Linked DNA regions of Homo sapiens: region 1 is linked to region 2. Evidence: promoter capture Hi-C in 16 types of primary human blood cells and fetal thymus (Javierre and others, 2016). All regions are on one chromosome and are shown on one strand. The core of a region is centred on a gene start or on the middle of the fragment in contact, and the rest is flanking DNA. Distances in the headings are between cores, read along the strand shown.

Region 1 (7,042 bases), core at 2,629-5,128, 390 kb after region 2:
AACTTTTGATTTTTATGTTATCACTATGCTTTTCTTCTTTCTCTATCATTTTTTCTTCTCCTACCCAGTCTAAATGCTTTTATACTCGTGGGATGGCCTGTTTCGGTATTAAAGGAAAGGTAGGAGTATATAACATAAGAAATTTATCCTTTCCCATTCTACCCCAACAAAAATCTTAATAGCCCACTTCCCCCAAGAAAAATAATTTTAGAGAGCTGTAATTAGAGTTTAAATTGACAGTAGGTGGCTGATGAATACCAAATAATAAAAGATAAAATTCACCCATCTGTCTTACAAAGGCAACTCTGAAATTAGTTTGATTCATACCTTTTATATCAAGCTCTTGCTCATCAATTTTGATTTTAACCAGAATTGGAGCTCTTTTAAACCTTTGGAATGCTTTGCTATTACTATAATTGCTAAATTAGCAGGCATTAAGACTTGAAGTGGTGACTGTAGTGGATTTTTTCATAGCACAGTGAATATGTTTATTGTATGTTATTGAATGGGGACATTAGCTACCAGTGGCACCAAACAGCAATTTTGTGGATGCATGACAGCCCTGGTAATGCCAGAAGCAACAACTGAGAAAGTACTTTCTAAAATCCTTCTATGATAAAGGTATTTTTAGCCATTTTTCAGGCCTAACTAATCCCAGGTGTGCCAGCTTTACCAAGTAAGGGTGAGTAGTTGTTGGTGGAGAAGGAGTGACACCATATGTTGAGAGATAAGAATTACAAGACTTAAATTCTCATTGGCCTAATGTACTATGTCTACTTTGTATAAACTAACTTACAAAAGTAAGTAAGGTAATTTTTGTCCTTATATCTGCCCCTGCAAAGGAAAAAATGCTTTCCAATTTCCACAGGTAAATATGTACTGTACATCGTTCTTTATAGCTGCAATTTTATTCAAATTGCCTGCCACAGTTTTATGAATGTTGGTTGTATTAGTCTGTTCTCATGCTGCTATAAAGAAATACCCAAGACTGGGTAATATAAAGGAAAGAGGTTTAATTGACTCACAGTTCTGCATTGCTAGGGAGGCTCCAGGAGACTTACAATCATGGTGGAAGGCAAATGAGAAGCAGGGACCTTCTTTACAAGATGGTAGGACGGAGTGAGTGCCAACAGGGGAAATGCCACTTATAAAACCATCAGATCATGTGAGACTCACTCACTATCACAAGAACAGCATGGGAGAAACTGCCCCCATGATCCAGTTACCTCCACCTGGTTCCACCCTTGACACATAGGGATTACAATTCAAGATGAGATTTTCAGTGGGGACACAGCCAAACCATATTATTGGTAGAAGCCTCCAAGCAGCTAGGTCACAGATGAAGGACAATTTATTACTTATAGCAATAGCAGCAGCAGAATATCAGCATTTTTATGCCAGTTCCCTGAGTTCCAAGTCCCACAGGGTGATGTGAAGAAAGCCAGATGATATCCACATATGCACTGGGTTGAATTACAGGAAAGGAACAGTGAGCTTAGGAAACTCAAATCTTTAGTTGTGGGCAGTAAAAATGTCTGACTTTTGCTCCCAAAGTAGACACTACCTTTGTCTTCCAAGGTTGTTTCCTACACAAAGGAACAAAGGCAAACAGTGCCACCCCTTGAAAGACATGCAGAAGGCCGGGCACGGTGGCTCACACCTGTAATCCCAGCACTTTGGGAGGCCAAGGTGAGCAGATCACGAGGTCAAGAGATCGAGACTATCCTGGCCAACATGGTGAAACCCCATCTCTACTAAAAATACCAAAATTAGCTGGGCATGGTGGCACATGCCTGTAGTCCCAGCTACTTGGGAGGCTGAGGCAGGAGAATCACTTGAACCTGGGACGCGGAGATTGCAGTGAGCCGAGATCACACCACTGCACTCCAGCCTGGCGACAGAGCGAGACTCCATCTCAAGAAAAAAAAAAAGACACGCAGAAACATGTGCACCCATGGAGAATTATCTCCCAACATTACTATGTACTTCGTTTTAATTAAATTTTATGAACTAACATCCCTTTCCAATATCAAAGTTATTTTAATACAAGTAACCTAAATGACATGACCTGATTTCACGAAGGTTGTGTATTAGTGATTTATTGCTATTACTATGGACTGAATGTTTGTGTCCTGCCATAATTTATATACTGAAACCGTAATCCCCAGTGTGATGATATTTGAAGATGGAGCCTTTGGGAGACAAGTAGGTTTAGATGATGTCATGAAGATGGAGCCCCCATGATGGTATTAGTACCCTTATAACAAGAGGAAGAGACCAGAGTCCTTTTGTTGTACCCATGTGTGGATACAACAAGAAGGCAGCACTCTGCAAGTCAGAAGTAAAGCCAGGATCCTTGCCAGGTACTGAATTGACCGGCACCTTGATCTAGGACTTCCCAGCTTCCAGAACTGTGAAAAATAAATATCTGTTGCTTAAGCCACCCAGTCTATGGTATTTTGTTATTGCAACCCAAGGAGACTAATACAGCTGTATAACAATATTACCACATACCTGGTGGTAATACATATTTATTATCTCACAGTTTCTGTAGTCAAGGGCATTACTTAAGTGACTTCTTTGATTAGGGTCTTACAAGACTTGAATCAAGCTTTCAGCTGAGACTGTGGTCTCATCTGTGGTTCTACTGGGGAAGAATATGCTTCCAATCTTATGTTGTTGACAGAATTCAGTTTCTTGCTATTGTAGGACTAAAGGCTTTGGTTTCTTGCTGGCTATCAGTTGGAGGCTACCCTCAGCTCCTAGAGGCCTCCTGTAGTTCCTTGCCAAATAGGGTTCCCAACATGGTCACTTACTTCCTCAAAGCCAGCAAGGGATAGAGAGCCACCCAGAAATATGGGCATTACAGTCTTATGTAAGAGAACCATGTAATTACATCTATCATATCATATTTGGCATATTCTATTGGCTAAAATACTTGAAAAGAGGGGATCACATGAGAACATGAACACCAGGAGGTCAGGATCCAGGGGCCACCTTAAGAATCTGTCTACCACAGGTCGATTATCTAAAGTGAAAAATTGATTATACAAATGGAGTCATTCCTGTTATACCCAACTAAAATTTAGAGTTAGAGGACCATAGGGGTGAAAAAACACTCAGGTCTCAAAAGCCTGCTCCAGAAACTGTCCCACAAGCCCAATCCAATGAAACAGCTGCTACAATTTTAAGACTAGTTTGACAACAAATGGCTGCCATGACTTCAAAGCTTGTTTTACCTAGTAACTTTTGCCACCCAGCAATCAGAGCTTGCCAGCTCCTGCAAAATGCCACAAGCACCAATAACCTTTCTCTTTTCCCAATGAAACCTCAACCATTTCCTTTTTTTTTTTTGAATATATTGGAGACCACTTCAGTTTGTATGTTTGTCCCAGATTGCAATCCTATTTCTTTGTTTATTTCAAAATAAACTCTTTTTGCTTGGAGATTAGTCTCTATCTGTTATTGACATTACATGGTGTCAGAAGTGAGATGCAAAGCAGATTCACTTGGAAAGATAATGGCCCCTGGAACTATGGTGTGCAGTACTCACTGTCAGACCCCTTGAGCCCCCTACTTCCGCTGGTGATCTTTTTTCACCCCAGTGAGTCTTTCTTGGGTTAAACACCCCTTTTTTTTTTTTTTTTTTTTTTGGATTTGAGTTCTTCAGCTTTATTTGGGATTTCTTTATGAAGGGCCTTTCCTCTCCTATTTATTAGGCCTCTATTTGTAAGGGATTTGAAGAAGGCTTTGTCATTCTTCCCGGTGAGTATGTACTTTACTCTTTGGTTCATTTTGTGTGCTTGATTTTTATTTTGGCTTTTGTGTGTTTGGCTTTGCACTGACTCACTTGGATATGTTTATTTACAAATGAACTCCCCAAATTCAAAGATATACCAAAATAGCCCCCCAACATTGGGGACTCTAGCTTGTTATATGCTTAATTATTATGGTCCATCTTCCTATTCTTTTTTTATCGCAATGGACCAATTACACTAAAGAAAATTTGGAATTACAATGGCCATCTCTTGAACTCCCTAACTTGTTTTCTTAGAACTAAATTAGAAGGCCATGGCTACAAAATTAAATTGCCTGAAAGGAGCATAAACTTTAAGTGGTATCTTGAAGCATCTAAATGTATTCAAGCCTCAAAAATCACCTAACTCCAAAATACCATCACTAAGTTAACTAAGACAGATAAACAACGAAAGGAAGATTTTAAAAGGCCTTAGAAACTCAGAGTTTTTCTGCTCCCCTGGTACCACCACCTCTCTCTCCTCTCTACCCTTCCCTTTCTGAAAACCCCACTCAATCCTGATACTTCCTCCCCTACTACCCTCCCAGCTTCTGATCCCCATCCTCAACCTATAAAAACTTGTCCCTGTAGGGTTAGACCCACTAACAATCCTGAGGTTCCTTAGATTGTCTATGCCCTTGGAATAAGGCTGAAATCCATGTTAAAGCCAAGGAATTTCCTAAAGTTACCCAGGACCCTCTTTGCTTTGCTGATGAATTTAACATTACAATTGAAGCTTACTAGCCCAGCTTCTCTGATCTTAATCAACTTGTCCACATGCTTGTGGGAGAAAGCCAGGCTAATCACTGGATGAAAAAGGTCAGTTGTGGCTGGGTATGGTGGCTCACGCCTGTAATCCCCACAATTTGGGAGGCTGAGGTGGGCAGATTACCTGAGGTCAGGAGATCGAGACCAGCCTGGCCAACAGGGCGAAACTCCGTCTCTACTAAAAATACAAAAATTAGCCAGGCCTGGTGGCACACATCTATAATCTCAGCTACTCAGGAAGCTGAGGGAGAGTCATTTGAACCCAGGAGGCGGAGGTTGCAGTGAGCCGAGGTCACTCCATTGCACTCCAGCCTGGGTGATAAAGTGAGACCCTGCCTTAAAAAAAAAAAAAAAAAAAGGAAAGAAAGAAGAAAAAGGTCAATTGCACACACCCTGTATTAGTCTGTTTTCATGCTGCTGATAAAGACATACCCAAGAAGGGGCAATTTACAAAAGAAAGAGGTTTAATTGGCCTTTGGCCTTACAGTTCCACATGGCTGGGGAAGCCTCACAATCATGGTGGAAGGCAAGGAGGAGCAAGACCCATCTTACATGGATGGCAGCAGGCAAAGAGAATGAGGAAGATGCAAAAGTGGAAACCCCTGATAAAACCATCAGATCTTGTGAGACTTATTCTCTACCACAAGAACAGTATGGGGGAAACCATCCCCGTGATTCAATTGTCTCCCACTGGGTCCCTCCACAACATGTGGGAATTATGGAAGTATAATTCAAGATGAGATTTGGGTGGGGACACAGAGCCAAATTATATCATTTTGCCCCTGGCCCTTGTCAAATCTCATATCCTCACATTTCAAAACCAATCATGCCTTCCCAGGAGTCCCCCAAAGTCTTAACTCATTTCATCTTTAACTCAAAAGGCCATGGTCCAAAGTCTCATCTGAGACAATGCAAGTCCCTTCTGCCTATGAGCCTGTAAAATCAAAAGCAAGTTAGTTATTTCCTAGAAACAATGGGAATACAGACATTGGGTAAATACACCTATTCCAAATAGGAGAAATTGGCCAAAACAAAAGGACTACAGGGCCCATGCAAGTTTGAAATCCAGTGGGGCAGTCAAATCTTAAAGCTCCAGAATGATCTCCTTTGACTCCATGTCTCATATCCAGGTCATGCTGATGCAAGAGGTAGGTTCCCATGGTCTTGGGCAGCTCCACCCCTGTGGCTTTGCAGATTACAACCTCCCTCCCGGCTACTTTCATGGGCTGGTGTTGAGTGTCTGCGGCTTTTCCAGGTGCATGGTGCAAGTTGTCGGTAGATCTACAATTCTAGGATCTGGAGGACAGTGGCCCTCCTCTCACAGCTCCACTAAGCAATGCCCTAAGCAGTGCCCCAGTAGGTGTAGGGGCTCCAACCCCACCTTTCCCTTCTGCATTGCCCTAGCAGAGGTTCTCCATGAGACCCCTGCCCCTGCAGCAAACTTCTGCCTGGGCTTCCAGGCATTTCCATACATATTCTGAAATCTAGGTAAAGGTTCCCAAACCTCAATTCTTGACTTCTGTGCACCCTCAGGCTCAACACCACATGGAAGCTGCCAAGACTTGGGGTTGGCCATCTGAAGCCATGGCCTGAGCTCTATGTTGGCCCTTTCAGCCATGGCTGGAGTGGCTGGGATGCAGGGCACCAAGTCCCTAGGTTGCACACAGCTTGGGGACCCTGGACCCAGCCCATGAAACCACTTTATCCTCCTAGGCCTCCAAGCCTGTGATGAGAGTGGCTGCCATGAAGACCTCTGACATGCCCTGGAGACATTTTCTCCATTGTCTTGGGAATTAACATTTGGCTCCTGGTTACTTAGGCAAATTTCTGTCGTTGGCTTGAATTTCTTTTCAGAAAATGGTATTTTCTTTCCTATTGCATTGTCAGGCTGCAAATTTTTCAAACTTTTATGCTCTGTTTCTCCTTTAAAACTGAATGCCTTTAACAGCACCCAAGTCACATCTTGAATGCTTTGCTGCTTAGAAGTTTCTTCCACCAGACACCCTAAATCATCTCTCTCAAGTTCAAAGTTCCACAAATCTCTAAGGCAGGGGCAAAATGCCACCAGTGTCTTTGCTAAAATATAACAAGAATCACCTTTACTCCAGTTCCCAACAAGTTCCTCACCTCCATCTGAGACCACCTGAATCTGGATCTTATTGTCCATATTGCTATCAGCATTTTGGGAAAAGCCATTCAACAAGTATCCAGGAAGTTCCCAACTTTTCCACATTTTCCTGTCTTCTGAGCCCTCCAAACTGTTCCAATCTCTGCCTGTTACCCAGTTCCAAAGTTGCTTCCACATTTTCAGGTATCTTCTCAGCAGTATCTCACCCTGGTACCAATTTACTATATTAGTCCATTTTCATGCTTCTGATAAAGACATACCCAAGAAGGGACAATTTACAAAAGAAAGAGGTTTAATTGGGCTTACAGTTCCACATGGCTGGGGAAGCCTCACAATCATGGTGGAGGGCA
Region 2 (7,297 bases), core at 4,316-6,815:
ATAGACACATGGTTGCTCAGCCAGTTTGAGTGCATGCCTGCCAGGAGTGTTCTTCAGTGTTGGGATGCAGGTATACAGCTGCTTGGCTGAGCTGGAAATATGTCTGCCACGGGTAGCCAGAAGGGGTGATTCTCAGGCCCAGAACATGGATGTAAGGCTGCTCAGCTGGTCTGAGGGTGTGCTTGCCAGGATGGTCCATGGGGCTCTTTTTCAGTCCTGGTACACAGGTGCAGGGCTGCTTGGCCAGCCTGTCTGTAGAGGGCAATCCATGGGGCTGTTTTTCAGGCTTGGTTGGCCTTGGGTGTGTTGCCAAGGAGTGGCCCATAGGAAACTTCTCAGATTTGGGACACAGGCACAAGGCTGCTCAGCTAGCTCAGGGGCGTGCACACTAGAGGCAGCCGATGCAGTTGTTTCTCAGGTCCAGTATGCAAATGTATGGCTACTTGTCTAGTCTGGGGTGTGTCTGCCAGTGGCAGCCCATGGGGCTATTTCTCAGGTCTGAGACATGGACTTTTAGTGACTTGAGTGTTCTGGGGGCATGCTTACCAGGAGTGACCTTCAGGACTATTTCTCAGGCCCTTTTAGGGAGTGCAGGGCCATTGGGCAGGCTGGGGCATGGTAGGGTAGAGGCTCTGGGGACACGGCGGGGCTGTTTCTCAGGTCCTGAGCATGGATGTGTAGCCACTTCACTGGCCTGGGAACATATCAGATGCCTGGAGGCTCAGGGGCCTCTCCCACTCAGGGGAGGATATGTAGTGGTTTGGCTGGCTCACTGGTGGTTTCACCCTGGGCAGGACTGGCAGACAGTTCCTCCTTCTAGAATTGCAGTGACAGGGGTTGGTTTCCCTGCTATGTAGGACCAGAGTCACAGCTGATCCTTGGCCCAATCTCCATACAGCTGGGGTTGTGGCATTCAGCCACCCATATGGGCTTGGTGCAATGAAGATGGAGCCCCAGTGCTAGGGAAGTGCAGTGGCTACTGGCCATCAGAGCAGGGCACACTCCAGAGGTAGCTCTGGTCTCAAGATGGTACCATGCTGCAGCAGCTTGGCTCACAGAGGGTGGGTGTGAATGAGGAGTGCACACCTTGTGCTCTTAATCAGGGCCACGTAGTTGTGTGAATTTCCATCAGCTCTCCCAACTGGGCTCAGGGCTTGTGAGGACTGTGGAATTCTCCTGTTGTAAGGACTGTAGGCTGGGCCTTGTCACTCATTCCTATAATCCTAGCAATGTGGGAAGCTGAGGCAAGCAGATCACCTGAGTCCAAGGGTTTGAGACTAACCTTTGGCAAGATGAGAAAACCCCATCTCTACAAAACATTAGCCAGGCATGGTGGTGCACGCCTATAGTCCTGGCTATGCAGGAGGCTGAGGCGAGAAGATTGCTTGAGCCGGTGAGGCAGAGGTTGCAATGAGCTGAGATCACACCACTGCACTCCAGCCTAGGTGACAGAGTGATACTCTGTCTCCAAAAAAAAAAAAAAAAAAAAAGACTGCAGATGTTTGCAATGGTAATAGGGGCTGATAGAGATCATCTGCTTCCCTTTTCCTTGCAATAGGAAATCCCTCCTGTCTATGGGTTGATCAGATTTGGGCAAAAGAGATGGGGATGCAAAGGCTCTGTGTCTTCATGCTGCCTTCCTGGACTTCCAATCACCACAGGTCCATCGCCACTCCCCTACTGCACTCCAGCACTCTGCTTTTGACACTTCAGTAAAATCTTAGCTGTTTATTTGTTGCCTTGGTCCTTTATTTTCAGGGGGATGAATGCCAGGCATATCTCTAAGTCAGTCATCTTGCTTTTCTACATCTCTTTATTTACAGGAGAGAAGGTTGTTACCATCCTTGGTGATGAAGGAAACAGATAGCTCATGTTGACAGGCATCAGTCCTCAATAAGTGCAGGTAAGAGGGATCATAGGCAGCAACAGAATTCTGAGGTATCTCTGTGTGAGCAAAGAGCTTTTCCAGTAAATTGCACCATGACAGTCTGCTAAAGGCATAATTTATATGATCACCAAATGGCTTCTCAATTAGTCTTTCTGTTAACATTCCTACATTATCTCCATACCAGCTTGTTTCTTAGGTAATGCTCAGCCAAACAGAAATCAGATTTTGGAACCAAATCAGATTTTCTTCTATAGCCCCAGAAAAGACTCTGCTTAGAATAAGCAAGGAGAAAGAAAAAAAAATGGGAAGAGAAAGAGATATGTAGAGGAAGAAAAGAGAAAGAAAAATTGGAAAAAAAAAAAATCTAAAACAAGCACTAGATTCAAGTTTGGCATCTATCGCAGGACATACTCAACATTAAGAGGGGGCAGAAAACAAATGGGGAGGGGGACAGCTTTCCAACTCCCCAAATCAGGTTGTCACCATGTGACTTCATTATCTCGGTTGAAATATTGTGAACTCATCCCACCATTTGGTGTGAATAACTGAGTTATCATCAAGATAACCTTGAAATGCATATCACGTGTACATTTCAGATAAGGTTTGTTTAATCAGCACAGGAATAATAAACACTTTGCTAGGTGCTCAGTATTACCTCCATCTTGAACTCTTACAAACTTGAACCCAACTTAACATGAAGCAGGGATCAAAACGTCCATCAGGCCATTCCAGGTTGAAAATCCTATGATGCCAGAGGCATTCGGGGAAATTCTAAGTAAAGCATAGAAGAATCTCAGGGCTATGTTAAGGTCACTAACTGGCCTCACTGCTTCACCTAGACAGCCCTGTTTTTCAACAAACTACAACTGCCGGGTTTGATGGTGATTATGGGGATTTTGTACATAGCTAAAGTTATACTATGAAGTATTTTTGAAGTATTTTGAGAATTACTTGTAAATTATCGTTTGCATGCTTAACTGATAGCCTTCATTATGAGAAAGACCATATTTAATAAAAATTGTATGTAATTTAAAAATTAATTCAGACTTGAATAAAGTCTGTTGATTGATTAATATTATTGTATCAATATAAACTTTCTAATTTTGATAACTATACTCTCATTGTATAAGATATTAATATTTGGGGAAGTTGGGTGAAAGGTATATGGGAATTCCTTGACTATTTTTTTGTAAATTTTTTTTTTTTTGAGACGGAGTCTCGCTCTGTCACCCAAGCTGGAGTGCAGTGGCACCATCTCGGCTCACTGCAAGCTCCGCCTCCCGGGTTCACACCATTCTCCTGCCTCAGCCTCCCGAGTAGCTGGGACTGCAGGCGCCCGACACCACCATGCCCGGCTAATTTTTTTGTATTTTTAGTAGAGACGGGGTTTCACCGCGTTAGCCATGATGGTCTCGATCTCCTGACCTCGTGATTGCCCGCCTCGGCCTCCGAAAGTGCTGGGATTACAGGCGTGAACCACTGCGCCCGGCCTGTAAATTATTTATAAGCTGGAATTACTTGAAAGTGAAACATTAAAAGGAAGTTTTGAAATATTTAAAAAGGTAATTAACAGGGCTTGGCAATTTCTCCATTATTTGCACTCAGAAAAGGGGCTCTTTCAGCCTCTCTCTTTTGCTGACAAGATGATGAAATCCACGTAAGTCAGATGAAAGAATGAATGCAAAAGTCCTTGCTGAAGTAAACTGCTAAGCAAATGCTAATAGTGATCATTATAGTCCCATATGGAGCTGCTTCTCTATAAATAAAGGGAGGAACAAGCCATTGTACCAAATACCTTATCAGATACTCTCCAAGCAGTTTACAAAATGCTTAGAAATTGCTGCCCTAAAAGTAGGACTGGGGAGCTATTGAAAGGTTTTCAGCAAGGCAGGCAGGCATATAACAACAGCAATCCTTCAAGATGACTCCTCAAGCTTTTAATACATAGGATGGAGGAAGTGGAGGAGATTGGACTCAACAAATCCCACTAGGAGTTACTTTAATAATTGAGGAGTGGATGGTCCTCACTGAGTGGGCCTGGAAAGGAATAAACCAAGCTGAGAGGCATGGTGAAGAGCTCATCGTCTGGGCGGGACTACCTTGCAGGTGGGAGAGGAAGGAGACAAATGAGTCTGTGGTTACTTGAAGACATTTCACCAAGATGACTGGGGCAAATGCTTCTCAGTGTCACTGAGAGATGGAAAATGAAAAACAGGAAAGACAATTCATAGAGGTTGGGCTGCAAACTCAAGTGGCAGCAGAGGCCAGGCAGGTGCAAAAGGGGGAAGACAGGCCGTGGGGTCTGCAAAACTGCAAGAGTCGTCTCTCTAAAGAGGGTGCCTCCAAGGGGCCTGCCACAACTCAGCATCAGCCGTCCTTGCCATATGGGAATGCACTTGTGGTGTAACTAGATCTTCCATTTTTTCAAGAGAAGCCAGAAATTCAGATTTTATGTGAAATCTCTTAACTTTTTAATGCTAGCTACTAATTTTAAAACGTGTTAAAGCATGGTGTCTGCCAGCCAAGTACATCTATGGGCCAGATCTGGCAGGGTGGCTATCAAGTTGTGACCTCTGACATAGAGAAAATGTCAAGGGTCAAAGTTCATAGACTGTTAAGGTTACATAGAGAGACAGTGACTGTAAAGGGATTCAGTACCTAAAATGCTACGGATGCAGCTTTGCCAGCAATCTGAGCTGTATGACATATGCCCCTATCCTTCAAGCCTGTATATGGATTTGAATTTATACAGGAAGTTTCATCTAATCCTCAAATGGTTAAATCACAAGAATTTGAGTGCTTTCTGTGTGCTGAGTACACAGAAGTTAAAGAATTTAAAATCTAACTGGAGAAGAAAAAAACATGCCCTCTTGAAACAACTTGAAACAAATTATGAAAGAACCTGGGAGACTGCTTTCTTCACATTTCATGTGTCAGAGGCATCTTAAATCCTGGTTTGTCCCCCCCAAATCACTTCCATTTAGAAAACTTTGCAGTAGTGTGTGTGTGTGTCTTGAATATGTAACCAGAAATCTGATTTCCTGGGCAGTGGTTACAAAGCTGCAGCCTCTCTTTGCCCAGGGGTATCTTTACCCCAGAGTGGGAGGGGAGTGAGCTGAGGTGGGGGTGCACGAACGCTGCAGAGGAGGTTGGGATGGGAGTGGCCGGCGTGAAGCCACTGCCTGTCAGGTTTCTCCGCTGGAGTCCCCTGTTTGTCTCTGTCATTACTCTTTAAGTATTTGCGTAGCAGACAGGCGGGCACCGAAATAGAAAGTGTCAAAGATACGATGACAATGAGGATAAAACCAGGGCAGAGGGTTCTGAAAGTCCCAACCAGCACGGTCCCCGCAGAATGCCAGCGCACCTCCTCCCGCCACTTCAAAGAGCCGGCTCGGCGGGGCAGGAAGCGGCGGCTGCGGCTGCGGGTCCTGCGAGAAGAGCGCGATTTCCTCCGGGGCTGCCCAGTTATCTCTGGAGTCGCAGAACTGCTCTCGGGAGAACGCGTTCTCTACCCCAACCCCGTGCTCCTCAACCCACCCACCTACTTCCTCTAGCTCCACACACTCACAAGCACCGAGCTGCCAAAAATTTCCACCCACCGCCCCCCTCCCTAGCTAACTTCCTTCCAGCATTTCCTGAGCTGGATGATCCTAGGATTTGTAAGACAGGAAAAAAAGGAAGGCGTGAGGGCGGGCAGCAGCGACAGGATGCTTGTTTTTCGCTCTACCAAAGTCGTCTGAAGGCGAGACAGCGGGCCCAGGGCGCAGGACCCACCGCAGCCCCCTGGGCAGTCTCCTCGCCCCGCGTCCGCGTCGTCTCCGGGGCACTTAGTAAGGGGTGGGGAGAGCTTGCCCTCCCTCTTAAGCTGAGGAGAAACACCCGAAGACACCGCAGGAGCCTGTGAAAGTCCCTAGGACTCCAAGTGAGGAAGTGACACTCCCAGGCGAGCCGGCCCGCGGCTGCCAGTCTGCACGGCCTCGGCACGGCGGCCCCGGAGCGGCGCGGGGTGGATCTCAGGCTCTGCCGGCCCGCGGCCCGCGGGGTCCATGCGCAGGGCCCCCAGCCCAAGTTCTTCCATCTTCCGATGCGGCCCCCCAGAGCCGCGGGGCAGCCGGTGATCTAGCCCGGGAGCCCATCTTACAGCGGTGCCAAGCAGAGGGGCGGCAGAGACGGAGGGGCAGCCTCTTTGGGACTAACTCATGAAGAACAAGGGTGCTAAGCAGAAGCTGAAACGAAAGGGAGCCGCCAGCGCGTTTGGCTGTGACCTGACGGAGTATCTGGAAAGCTCGGGACAGGATGGTAATGTGCCTTGGCCTTTCTCCCCCGCCCCCACCTTCTTTTTGTTTGAGGGAGAGACGGACTCTCTCGAGTTGTGATAGAGTCGGTTCACAAGTTAATGTATTCCAGGCCTGTGCGCTCATTGCACTTTTTTTTCTTTTTTTTTTTTAAAGAACATAAACGATTCTTAAGGTGCACAGCGCTGCTGTCCCGACGCGCAGAGGCTGCTGTGTCAGTCCTTCCGTTTGCCTCACACAAGCTGTTAATGGGTGGTACTGCCGCAAGTTTACCGGGCCACCTCAGGGGATGGGGGTGGAAGCTGCAGAGGTCCCAATCCTAAACTTGGCACGTTGGAAGGGAGGGAGGAGGGGTGGACATGTGGGATGGTGATCAGTGGTCTTGCCTGGGTACAAAATCATGACCGCCTTAGCTGTCCCTCCTGGGCTCTCCAATTTCGTCTGCTCACATCTTTTTTTATTAATGTGTTAGAAGGCAGTTGCGGGTGGGGGGTGGGGGAGGATCCTGGCTGGGGGAGTGGTTGCACAAACATTTCTGAATTTCTGAGCTGATGCCAAATATATAGTACCTCCACCCCCTTTCCACAACCCCCTCCCCGCCCTGCAAGACCTTTTCCCTCCTCTTGGCTTTCAGATTAACATTTGGTGTGTCAGACAAGAAGAGTGTTGTAAAAAGGTCAGAGGGCCTCCATTTTTAAATAGTTTAGGGTAAGTAGAGAAAAGGAAAACTTCTCTGTTTTCAAGGTCAGATGGGGGTAGGGGGGAGTTGGGGATGGGGGAATCCAGCGGAGACAATTTAAACATTTGTTGGGGAAGGGGGAAAGAAAACACCATCTAGATTACAATAACAGCGTTTGAGCTTAGAAGTGTTTAATCATAGGAAAGTTGGAAAATTGAGCATTAAATGACTCCTTTTGTAAGGTTGACTGGTTTTGCACTTACCCTTGACAAAAAGGCCTTGTCTTCAGAAGCTTCAGCGAGAGGAAAATAGCCTACTATATAGGCCATGTGTTTATACATAGATAGATACAACAAAGGGGAAAACTAAGGGCTGTGTAACCGTGCGGAATAATTCTGCCTCCAGGAAAATAATCTCAAAACCTATTTGATTAGT

Evidence for each region. The method cuts DNA at HindIII sites, captures the fragments that hold promoters and counts their contacts. A CHiCAGO score of 5 or more calls a contact.
Region 1: a fragment that was not itself captured here is called in contact with the fragment with the promoter of ARHGAP31 in region 2 in 12 of 17 cell types (megakaryocytes, naive B cells, M0 macrophages and 9 more); the score reaches 11.5 in megakaryocytes.

What each region holds. Positions count from the first base shown.
Region 1 is chr3:119,680,785-119,687,826 of GRCh38, forward strand. No RefSeq gene overlaps it. Among named protein-coding and RNA genes, the nearest start is that of COX17, 6.9 kb to the left of the region's middle. The HindIII fragment of the contact is 1,303 bases long and covers 3,228-4,530 here.
Region 2 is chr3:119,288,818-119,296,114 of GRCh38, forward strand. ARHGAP31 (Rho GTPase activating protein 31) reads left to right here and starts at 5,566. Exons shown (of 12, transcript NM_020754.4): 1 at 5,566-6,187. The coding sequence starts at 6,088. It overlaps B4GALT4-AS1 (B4GALT4 antisense RNA 1), which reads left to right. Exons shown (of 4, transcript NR_046574.1): 4 at 1,824-1,849. RefSeq lists an enhancer at 4,989-5,038 and a silencer at 5,879-5,998. The HindIII fragment of the contact is 3,332 bases long and covers 3,821-7,152 here.